2 separate regions of the Homo sapiens genome follow, and region 1 is linked to region 2. The links are contacts of gene promoters, found by promoter capture Hi-C in human tissues and cell types (Jung and others, 2019). All regions are on one chromosome and are shown on one strand. Each heading gives the region's core, a stretch centred on a gene start or on the middle of the fragment in contact. The rest is flanking DNA. Distances are from core to core; before and after follow the strand shown.

Region 1 (5,490 bases), core at 470-2,969, 270 kb after region 2:
GGGGCCACCTGCCAACCTGCCCACCTCCCTCGGAGACCTCTCTGAGGGCAGAGCAAGAGGGACCAAGCCTCTGGTCTCTGGCCTGGGGTCCTCTTCTGATAAGGGGTCCCCATGCCAGCCTGGACCCGCTGGTCTCCCACATGTGTGATAGGGATTCTCACCATTTTTCTGCTCTTCTGTCAGCTGCTCTACCTAGAAAGGAAAGGGAATCTCAAGGCTCAGACTCAGGTATAGCTGCTGCTGAGGAAACCAACCCATTCCACAGGTGAGAAGGCTGGAGCTGGAGGAGGCAGGCTATTTCCAGGCCACAGAGTGGAGGTCTCAGTCCTCCCTCCCTGCCCCCAAAGCCCTGACGTGACCCAGCTGGCCTCACTGCGACTGGGCTCAGGGCCAGGGTGACAGGTGGGCACCCCCTTCAGGACCAAGGTGACCCTCAGTAACAATAGTCAGTGACCACTCAATGCCCTTTCGGCCCCTGATGAAACTCAAGCTGGGTGGCCCGAAGGACAGCTGTCCCTCAAGTTGGGATAATAAAACCAGTGTGGAGGCAGGCAAGCCACCCACGGTAACCTGACCAGGGTGGCCACTGGGCTATTTTTAACGAGGAACAAAGTTAAACCTGGTGATTGTTCTGGGGACTTTGGCATGCAGGGGGTGGGGCAGCGTTATCTGGCCCCCTGGCCTGCTAGTGCCGCCTCAGAAGCCAAAATTAGTCCCCAACTCCGCCAGGCCTTGTATGGGCACTGGGTGGAGGGCTGTCCCAACCCCGGCTCCATGGACTCCCACAGGATAAGCAGGCGTGCCCCCAGAGCTGGCTATAGCACTTCCCTGCCCAGGAGTGAGGGAGGCTGAGGGAGGGGTTCCCCTGGGGACAGCTGGCCATGCCAGGATGTCCTTGCTCTGGGGTTGGGGGAGGTCACCACCACCCAGGATAGAATAGCATCTGAAGACCCTCAGTGACCCAGGAGGTTGCAGGGGCTTGGGGTGACCACTCTCCAGCCCTCATTCCCTCGCTCTCACCCCTAGCTAAGCCACTGAGCCCTGAGCCTGCCAGGCATGATGGGAGCTGGGGCCCCAGTTCTCTGTTCCTTCTTCCTTGGTTCTCCCTCATGTCCAGAACTTCCCTGCCTCAAACTTCAAAGCCCCATCTCCAGCCCAGGACTCAGGCTCTACAGACCCCTCCTCTCACACCCTCCACCCTCCAAAGCATCTTCGGCCCGCCAAGGGGCTGGAGTGGGGTGGCAGATTTTGAGCATGTGAGAAGCAGAATGTGAGGGGCAGAAATGGGGGTTGGGGACAGGGAGACAGTAATGGGGACTCAGACAGCTCAGGAGGAAGAGATGAAAAGAGAAAGGCAAAAACGTCCAGAGACAAATGCAGAGACATGTGGCTGAGCGACAGTGCCACAGACCACAGACACTTGGAAACAGAGAGTGAGACACGATGCTGAAAGCTGCAACCTCCTCCACCACCCTTCAGACCCGGAACCCCCTACCCCTTCTGCATCCTCAAACACCAGAATCACTGTCCCTGTGAGGGCCTGGGTTGAAGGCACGTAGGCCTTCTCCTTGGTCCCCACCACTTCCCTGGGGCTACTAACCCCGCACTCTCAGCTGAGTGAGCCCCCAGTGGGCCTGCCCACCCCAGCCCTACCCAGCCCTGTCCCTCACCGCAGCCTTGTAGATGTCATCCATGCTGGCGGCTCACAGGACAGCTTGCTGGGGTTGCCAGCCGGCCCTTGACTTAAATAGCCCTGCCCCGCTGCATTCCTGGCCCAGCCCAGCCCAGCCCAGCCCACCCCTGCGTGTAGTATCCTCCAGCCCCTCCTCTGGTCCCAGTGATCTCAGGCTGGCCTGAGTCCCCACGTCCTCTGCCCAGGGCAGGGAGCAGACGAACGGCTACAAGGACCAGGTTTCTTTCCCTCCTGTCCCCCACACTCCCCAAAGGGACTCTCTGAAAAGGTTTCTGGAATGAATGAAAACATAAGCCCAGTGCAGGACAGGAGCTACAAAGTCGTGGGCCCCAGGCAAGGTGCAACACAACAGCTCAGGCTCCCATCCAACCAGGTTGGCGGGTTGCCATGACCTCCACTTTCCAGATAAGGAAACTGAGGCTCTGGAGGAGTGGTGACTTGCCCAAGATCTGACTGACTTGGTAACCCCCGCCTTTAACTAAACCTCTCTGGAATGGGGGTGCAATGTGCAAGGAGAGGCTAGGAGTGCAGGGCCCTGCCAAGAGAAGCCTCGAATGCCAAGCTCATAGTAAGATGCTGTGGAACTGGTGAAGGAGGAAGTGACTGACCCACCTTAGGACAGGGTGGCCAGGAGCCCTTCTGCCAGAGGAGCCTGTCCCAGACCTCCCATCTGCCCAGGGAGAAGTACCCACTTCGGGCTTAAGTCAGCTGCTCTCAGTTATTCAACAGCACCCCTATAGATGCCCCATCTGTGGCAGGCTCTTTCCCTCCTCACCCTCCAATTAGGTTACCACCTCCCTCTTCTAGGTCTCATCTTTCCCCGGTTTAGGATTCAGCACTGTAGTTCCTGGGTCCAGATCAACCTGTCTCCCTCGTTTTGAACTTTGGCAGGCCACCCCGTGGGGTTCTTGTGCTCAGTGGCAGCACACACCCCTCCATCCACCTACACCTTCCTTCGTACAGAGTTCGTATCAAGTTTATCCCTCTTGATAAACACGCTCCCTGCCTCGAGCACTACTGCGTGCTGGGCCGCGCATCAATCAACCCACTCAGTTGTCCAGAAGCCCCACTGACAAGAGATCTCCGAATCTCAGAGAGGTTCAGAACTGGCCCAGAATCACTCTCGCCCTGCTCCGGCGGTAAGCACAGGTCCTATTTTCCCCTCCAACCTGCCTTGCCCTAAAGAGAAAGAGCCCAACAGCCAGGTGAGGCACTATTATGGCCTCCTTTATCAGGAGGAGTAAACTGAGGCCAGGAAGAGCAGTGACTTGCTTCGTGTGGCCTGGGAGACTCGGGACCTTCTGTCCCCTCTTCCCGAGGACCCAGGGGCGATGCCCAGAGCTGTCACCACCCGGGGTCTCAGTTTCTAGCAGGCTGTGCAGGGTACCGCCGGCGGCGCCACGCAGGTAGATTACGCAAGCGAGCACCTCGCACGCGCGCCCTGAGTGGCCCCTGTCAGTCACGCGCGGGGGCGGGGCGAGGGCGCAGGAAGAAGGCGGGGCCAAGATGGCGGCGCAGCGCGCGGCGGGGGCGACGGGCGGCGGGGGCCGGGGGGCGGTGGGACGTTGACCCCGCCCCCTGCTGCTGCTAGTCTGCGCCGGGCGGCGGTGGCGGCGGAGACCCGAACATGGCGACCGCGCGCACCTTCGGGCCCGAGCGGGAAGCCGAGCCGGCCAAGGAAGCGCGCGTCGTGGGCTCGGAGCTTGTGGACACTTATACGGTGTGTTGGGGGCGCGGGCACCCGAAGCGGGGGTGGTGGCTGGAACCGGGAGTCCGACTCGGGGGCTTGGGGAGGGGTCCGGGATCTGCAGCCCCGAGGAGCGGGTAGAAGGGTCTGCGATTGCGAGGAGGGGGCTGGGACGGGGGATCTAGGAAAGGGATCTGGGCCCCGCAGGTCCGGGAGAAGGGTTGCTCGGGGCCCGGGGAGGCGGTTTGGAAAAGGGTACGCGATCAGAAAGGGAGGCTCGGGTTGGGGGCGGCATCTGGGGATAAAGGGGGCTTGGGGAGGGGGGTGTCTAGATGAGGCGGAACCCCTCTAGATCCTCTAGGACTGGAGGGGCCCCGGCCTGGAAGACCGTTACAGGGGTCCAGGAGGAAGGCGATGGGGAGAGGGTCTCTGATGGATGGAATCAGGGAAAAGGGTCAGGCTTCGCAGGCCTTGAAGAAAGAGAAGGCGTCAGGACCCTGATCTGGGGAGCCTGAGGTGGTGGTTGAGATTTTCTCTGAGAAGTGCAGGAGAGACCTGGGGAGCAGATGCCTTGGGGGTCGGGCGGAGACAAGACCGGAGGAGGGGTGGAGCCCATCTATGGAGAAATGGGGGTGGTCTCAGTGCTAAAGCGCAGGCCCTATAAGCCTTAGGAATCTTCGTGACTTTGGGCTGTGGGAGCGAGATGGGGCAACAAGCTGCCCACACACACTTCTAAGCTATGGGGGAGACAGAGGACAAATAGCGGGTAGTTCCCGACTTTGACGGGGTTGGATGCCAGGCCTGTGAGCCTGGTGGGCTGCCTGGCAAAAACCGGCCCTGGACTAGGCATAGAGCACCTCCCTGCCTCCTCCCCTTTGTTCCCGCAGGGTAGGGAGTGGGTGGGGGCCTTGGGCCTGCCTGCACCTCCCCTCCCTGGCCCTCATCCTAACCTTCCGCTCTGAGGGCCATTCTTCTGGCTCTTTTCTCCTTTCCTGAAGGCAAGGGGAAGGAATCAGGCAGGATGGGAAGAGGAGAGGGGTGGATCTTGAAGCAACAGGCCAGCCTGGAGAAATGGCTGCTCCTCAGGGCTGGAGGAGGCTTCAGCTCCATGCTGCAGAGAGGAGGGGGAAACTAGGTGCAGGAGGCGGGTGAGGTCTCTAAGCTGATGGCTGACTGGCCATCAGCTATGGGCACATTCAGCCAGAGGGCCATCTTCAAAAAGCTCACCCTATTCTGGACTGCGCCCCTCCTCTGCATGTATGTCGGGGGAGGTGGTGATCTAGTTTGGACCCTACCATCCTCTGTCTCCGGGTGTGCCGAGTTGGACATTATTAACACACCTACCTTTTGAACACTTGCCATGGGTCAGGCCCATGTACAAAGCATTTTACATGCATTGCCTTACTTGGTCCTTGATTCTAAGATGGAGGAACTAAGGCTCAGAGAGAACTTAGGCTCCAAGTTACTTATATAAGTGACACATAAGCTGCAGCCAGGAAATGGCAGAACCAGGTTTTTAACCCAGGCCTTCCTTAACCTCTAGGCCATATTGCCTCCTGATAGAGCTTAGTTGCTACCACTCCCTCCCCACATCAGCTGCTTGTGCCTTGATTCCTGGCTCAGCAGCAGAAATCACAGCCATGAACCAGTTGAAAGGGTTGGAAAATGACTTGCTTCCAGGAGGTAGTCAGGGCACCTGGAAAGAAGTACAACAGAGAAGATGCTCAGGCTAGAACTGGCCCTGCTCTGCCTCCCTTGGAAGAAATGGCCTTGCCTGCAGCTCCGGTTGGGTTTTGAGTTACCTAGAGGCAGGAGGTAAAAAACTAAAGAGGTGACTTGTGGTAATCACCTTTTTCATTCCTTACTGATGGATGGAGCCACATGCTTGTCTCATGTGCCTCCCAGCCCTAGTGCTTGGGCCATGGAGGAAGCTGAGAGGGGCCCTGCTGGTCAGCAAGGGTCAGGTGCAGAGGCTGGTGGGCAAGGGCAGCCTGACTTTGGCCTTGGGGTGGGTCTGAGTTGCAGAGAGAAAGACTGATAAAAGATAATTGGGAAAGATAATTGCAGCTTTTGCTGCTGGGGGAGGAGACTCCTTGTTGCTGGGCTCCCT
Region 2 (5,486 bases), core at 2,122-4,621:
ATCTGTCCTTTCCTGACTTTTTAATGATCGCCATTCTAACCGGCGTGAGATGAAAAGAAAATTTCAGGCCAATATCCCTGATGAACATCGATGCAAAAATCCTCAATAAAATACTGGCAAACTGAATCCAGCAGCACATTAAAAAGCTTATCCACCACGATCAACTCGGCTTCATCCCTGGGATGCAAGGCTGGTTCAACATACGCAAATCAATAAACGTAATCCATCACATAAACAGAACCAACAACAAAAACCACATGATTATCTCAACAGATGCAGAAAAGGCCTTCAATAAAATTCAACACCCCTTCATGCTAAAAACTCTCAATAAACTAGGTATTGATGGTATCTCAAAATAATAAGAGCTATTTATGACAAACCCACAGCCAATATCATACTGAATGGGCAAAAGCTGGAAGCATTCCCTTTGAAAACCAGCACAAGACAAAGATGCTCTCTCTCACTCACCACCTCTATTCAACACAGTATTGGAAGTTCTGGCCAGGGCAATCAGGTGAGAGAAAGAAATAAAGGGTATTCAAATAGGAAGACAGGAAGTCAAATTGTCTCTGTTTGCAAATGACCTGATTGTATATTTAGAAAACCCCACTGTCGAAGGGCATGGTGGCTAAGGCCTGTAATCCCAGCACTTTGGGAGGCTGAGGTGGGCAGATCACAAGGTCAGGAGATTGAGACCATCCTGGCGAACACGGTGAAACCCCGTCTCTACTAAAAATACAAAAAAATTAGCCGGGCATGGTGGCGGGCGCCTATAGTCCCAGCTACTTGGGAGGCTGAAGCAGGAGAATGGCATGAACCCGAGGGCGGAGCTTGCAGTGAGCAGAGATTGCGCCACTGCACTCCAGCCTGGGTGACAGAGTGAGACTCCATCTCAAAAAAAAAAAGAAAACCCCACCGTCTCAGCCCAAAATCTCCTTAAGCAACTTCAGCAGTCTCAGGATACAAAATCAATGTACAAAAATCACAAGCATTCCTATACACCAAAAATAGACAGAGAGCCAAATCATGAGTGAACTCCCATTCACAATTGCTACAAAGAGAATAAAATACCTAGGAATACAGCTAACAAGGGATGTGAAGGACCTCTTCAAGGAGAACTACAAACCACTGCTCAAGGAAAGGAGAGGACACGAACAAATGGAAAAACTCTTTTTAATTTAATAACAGCTGCAAAGCACCTATTTCCAAATAAGGTCATATTCACAGGTACTGGATGTTAGGATTTGAATATATCTTTACAACAACCCTAGGGCGTAGGGTTGCTGTAAGGATTTAACCACAGGCCTAGAACATGGTAAACTCTCAATAAATGGTAGCTTTAAAAAGAAGGGCAGGCTAAGGGAGGCTGAGGGAGCTCAGGCTGGCAGACTTTCCCTGCATGTGTCCACATACTCACACACGCACAGGAGGCAAAGGACCACCCATGGAATCCACCCAGGAGGGCCAGGACAGGGGACTCAGGGGCCTCAGCCTGCACTCACCTGCTCAGCAGAGCTGAGCTCAGGGCATAACGTCAGCTTCCTGGGCAGAAGAGCTGCCAAAATCAAAGCTTTGCTAGTCAGAAAATTCCTTGGGAATGTTGAGCAAGGCCACCACTGACATCATGTGCAAATTCGCAGACAGCCTCTGCACCTAAGGCTACTCAGACCCACAGCCTTGGCTCGATGGGGTGGCAGACTCTGTATGCCACCAGCACACCCACCCACAGGGCAGAGGGGTCAGGACATAGAATCAGACAGGCCCCAGGGACCCCAGTGAAGATTATAGGCAGCCATTCCCCACTCAACAGAGGAGAAGGTCAGAGCCAAGTCTGACATTCCCCCATCCCCTCTCCATAACACCCATGCATCTGGCAGTCAGACAGGCCTAAGCTAAACCTTTCCCCCCCAGCTACCCACCAGGGTCATCCCCAAGCCAGGTCAGGGCCAATGGAGGTTGGGGTGGAGAAGACAGGCTTGGCCCTATTTCCTGCCCAACTCAGAACCTTCTGGTTTCTGCCACAGGATGCCTTGCAAGCTTATCGGGGTCACTGTGGGCAGCTGGGTGAGCTAAGTTCATCTGTGCTGCCGTGACCTCTGTGCAGATGCATCAAGAACACAGAGTGCTCCGGGGTTAGGATGAGGGCAGCGCTGATAAGGTTCATGGAACCAGTGACAGAGCACACAGCTGCCCACAGAGTCACTCCCCTGTGCCCCAGCCTGGACACCTCAGCTCCCTCTCAACCCCTTCCCGAGGTGCTAGATGTATATGGGACCAGAAAGCCCCCTCTGTGTCCTCCTGTGTGAGAGCCCAGCTGCTTAGGTGTTTGTGACTCTGGGCACCTGTGGGCCTGAGATTATGTGTATCTGAGAGATATTCAGGGCGTGCATCTATGAATGTGACCAACAGGCTGCCCTGCCAGGGCAGGCAGGGGTACAAGAGTAGGGGTGGAGGAATTGGGGGATGGGAACAGGTTGCCCCACCAACATCTGGGGCAGGACCATTATGGGCAGAAGGGAGCAAAGGCCTGAGGTGCTCTTGAGGATTTGCAGGGTGGGTTTAAGGGACAGAAAAGTGAGTTGTGAGTGAATGTCAAAGAGGTCGGTGGGCCTTGTGGACTCCTGTAAGAACTTGGCTTCTACCTTGAGTGACAGTGAGCCCTGGGGGTGCTTTGAGCAGAGAAGGAACTTCACGCAGCTTAGCTTTTAAAAGATCACTCTGGCTGCTCTGAGATAGATCAGTGGTTTTCCAAGTGTGGTCCAACAGCAGCACCTGAGAACTTGCAGAAATGCAGATTCTCAGGCGCCCTGCTAAATCAGGACACCAGGGGCAGGGCACAGAGATGGCGTCACAGGAGCCCTCCAGGGATGGCTTATACCCCTCCAGCAGCCTTGCTGCAGGGCTCCTGGAGAACTCCAACCCCACCAGACCCCACCAGATAGCTGCTATGAGCAGAATGAGTTCTGTGGTCAGCTGCATGTGGGAAATGAGGCTCCTGCACTCACACCCCCTAAGTTCTCTCAACACACAGCTTTTTTTTTGTTTTTTCTCTCTTTTTTGAGACTGAGTCTTGCTCTGTCACCCAGGCTGGAGTACAGTAGCGCCATCTTGGCTCACTGCAACCTCTGCCTCCCAGGTTCAAGCGATTCTCCTGCCTCAGCCTCCTGAGTAGCTGGGATTACAGGCGCCCGCCATCACATGCTCAGCTAATTTTTGTATTTTTAGTAGAGATGGGTTTCACCATGTTGGCCAGGCTGGTCTTGAACTCCTGACCTTAGGCGATCCACCCACCTCGGCCTCCCAAAGCGCTGGGATTACAGGCTTGAGCCACCAAGCCCAGCCTAAACACACTGCCTTTTAAAGCTTCTCCAAATCCCACGAAAAAGAAACCAGGTCACCTTTGCTCAGGCCAAGTGAATTATATAATACCCTTTCTTAACTTACTTGACTATGGAATATTTTTTCCAGAGACCACTTCATGAACATAGACCACACTGAAAAATGCTACTTCAGGTACATTTTGGTTTATTTCTCCAGGCTCCTACACTGCGCCTAACACAGAGTGACCACCCAACAACTGCCCTTTGAAAAATGCATGAAGCTCCCCCATGGTGACCCTGATGAAATTCAGGTGATTTATAAACCAACTGACCTTCCCCCAAGCTCTGGAAGGACTTGGCTTCAGCACCTCATACACTGACTCCCTGGGCTCCCCTGGGAGTCCAGGGGTCTGGAGGTTCCAAGCACAAGAAGGGGAAGAGGGAGGGGTTGCCGCCTTGGCTTTCACGGAACAATGACCTCTCTGGTGCTCAGGGTCCCCACCCTGCCTGAGCTCAGGGCCAAGTCACAAGGCAGCTTCCGTAGAAGACTTTTTTTTTTTTTTTTGCCCCGAGAACCCCCCACTCAGCCCAGATGATGTGTTGTTTGTAGAAAGCTTAAGTGGGTCCCAGGAGGTCAGTCCAGCCAGCACCTGCCTCCAGGCTGGGCAGCCACTCCTCTGGTCCTTGCACACAGCCGGGCATCAGGCCTGCCTCAGGGGCCCCTTTGAGGCCTCAAGAACAACTGAGCTCTCCTTTGTTCCCAAGGAAATCTCAGTGGAGGCCCTTTCATTAGTGAGAGGCACCTGGCCATGAAGTTCAAATAGACTCAGAAGCCCGAAGGTCCAGGAAATGCCAGAGGGGCCACAGAATCACAGCTTTCCTCATCACGGGTGCCAGAAGAGCCTTGAAACCACCAGGTCTATGCCTGTATTAACAGATGGAGAATATGTACAACTATTATACATCAATAACATTTTTTTTAAAAACAGGTGGAGAATCTGAGGTCCAGAAACAAGACATGACTGTTATGGTCACACAGCTTGGCTCTCATGCCCTTGGGATCTCCCTGGTCCACGCTCTGGTCAGTTTAATAGTTCTCAGGGGTGTACAGAGCCATCGGGACAGACCTGAGCAGGATGGCCACAGAGGAGGCAGGCAGAGGGAGGGCCAGTCAGGGGCTCTTGATAGTCCTGACTTCATCAGGAATGAGCGCAGGGGAAGGGATCACGATCCCAGGGAGCCAGGCTGCACTTGCGGTAGGGAGGTGGAGGTGAGGGGTGAAGCAGAGCAACCCTGCGGCCCTGCACAGCTCAGCCCGTGTGTGTGACCCTATGTATGATGACGTCCCAATCATGGCACACCATGGCTGCACATGTGTGCCTCTGTGACAAGGTCACAGCCCCCGAGGCACGCTGTGACTACACCATGTATCTAACTGTCACAAGGTGCTGCTATCCCTATGACCAGAGTGGTTGGCCATGTGGCCATGTGTGAAAGGGTGTTTGTGACCCTGGGCAGCTGTGGGCCTGGGATTCTGCATGTATTTGAGAGACCTTCAGGGTGTGCACGTAGGAATGTGACCAGCAGACCACGCTGCCAGACACTAGGCCCTAAGAACTTCCAAACTTGAAATGTCACTTCAGAGTGGCCAGCAGTCTTCTGTCTGCTAAGACACAGGCAGGCTGTGGAAAACTATTTTCTAGATGTTGTTACACAAATATAGAGTGAGAGCCCTTCTGCTGCACAGCTATGGTCATCTTCTGAGGTGGTGGTCAAGGAAGAGAGCGGGAGAGGGACCAGGAGGGGGAACGAGGGTCTGACTGCAGCCTCCACCCCAGCTGAGCTTCAAGGGGCTTCAGTTGACTCCTGACCACACCGTCCACAGACCAGGCTGAGATCAGAGGTGGCCTATCCCAGGGTGAGCTTAGGGAGAGCCATTGGAGAGGATGACATAGACACCCGGGAGGGCCCATGGGAGCTTGCGTATGCATGGGTGGCAGTGGAGTGGCAGAGTGTCGGGACATGGACACTTACAGATCTCCCCAAGGAAGGCTCCTGAAGATGCTCAACTGGGCCCCTAGTAAATGGCCTTGCTCCATTTCCCCTGGCCTTCTCCAGGCCATCTGCTGACCAGCCATCTGACCCTAGCTTTCCACACTCACCTCT

The links. The method cuts DNA at HindIII sites, captures the fragments that hold promoters and counts their contacts. A contact is called where the count stands out against the background at its distance.
Region 1: a contact is called between the fragment with the promoter of TNNC1 here and a fragment that was not itself captured in region 2, in 2 of the 25 tissues and cell types used here (small bowel and spleen).

What each region holds. Positions count from the first base shown.
Region 1 is chr3:52,452,322-52,457,811 of GRCh38, forward strand. It overlaps TNNC1 (troponin C1, slow skeletal and cardiac type), which reads right to left and starts at 1,720. Exons shown (of 6, transcript NM_003280.3): 1 at 1,671-1,720; 2 at 162-192. The coding sequence starts at 1,694. It overlaps NISCH (nischarin), which reads left to right and starts at 3,283. Exons shown (of 21, transcript NM_007184.4): 1 at 3,283-3,413. The coding sequence starts at 3,321. RefSeq lists enhancers at 1-582, 4,262-4,937 and a silencer at 3,208-3,437. The HindIII fragment of the contact is 8,260 bases long and covers 1-5,490 here.
Region 2 is chr3:52,180,214-52,185,699 of GRCh38, forward strand. No RefSeq gene overlaps it. Among named protein-coding and RNA genes, the nearest start is that of ALAS1, 15 kb to the right of the region's middle. RefSeq lists an enhancer at 4,306-5,141. The HindIII fragment of the contact is 5,026 bases long and covers 859-5,486 here.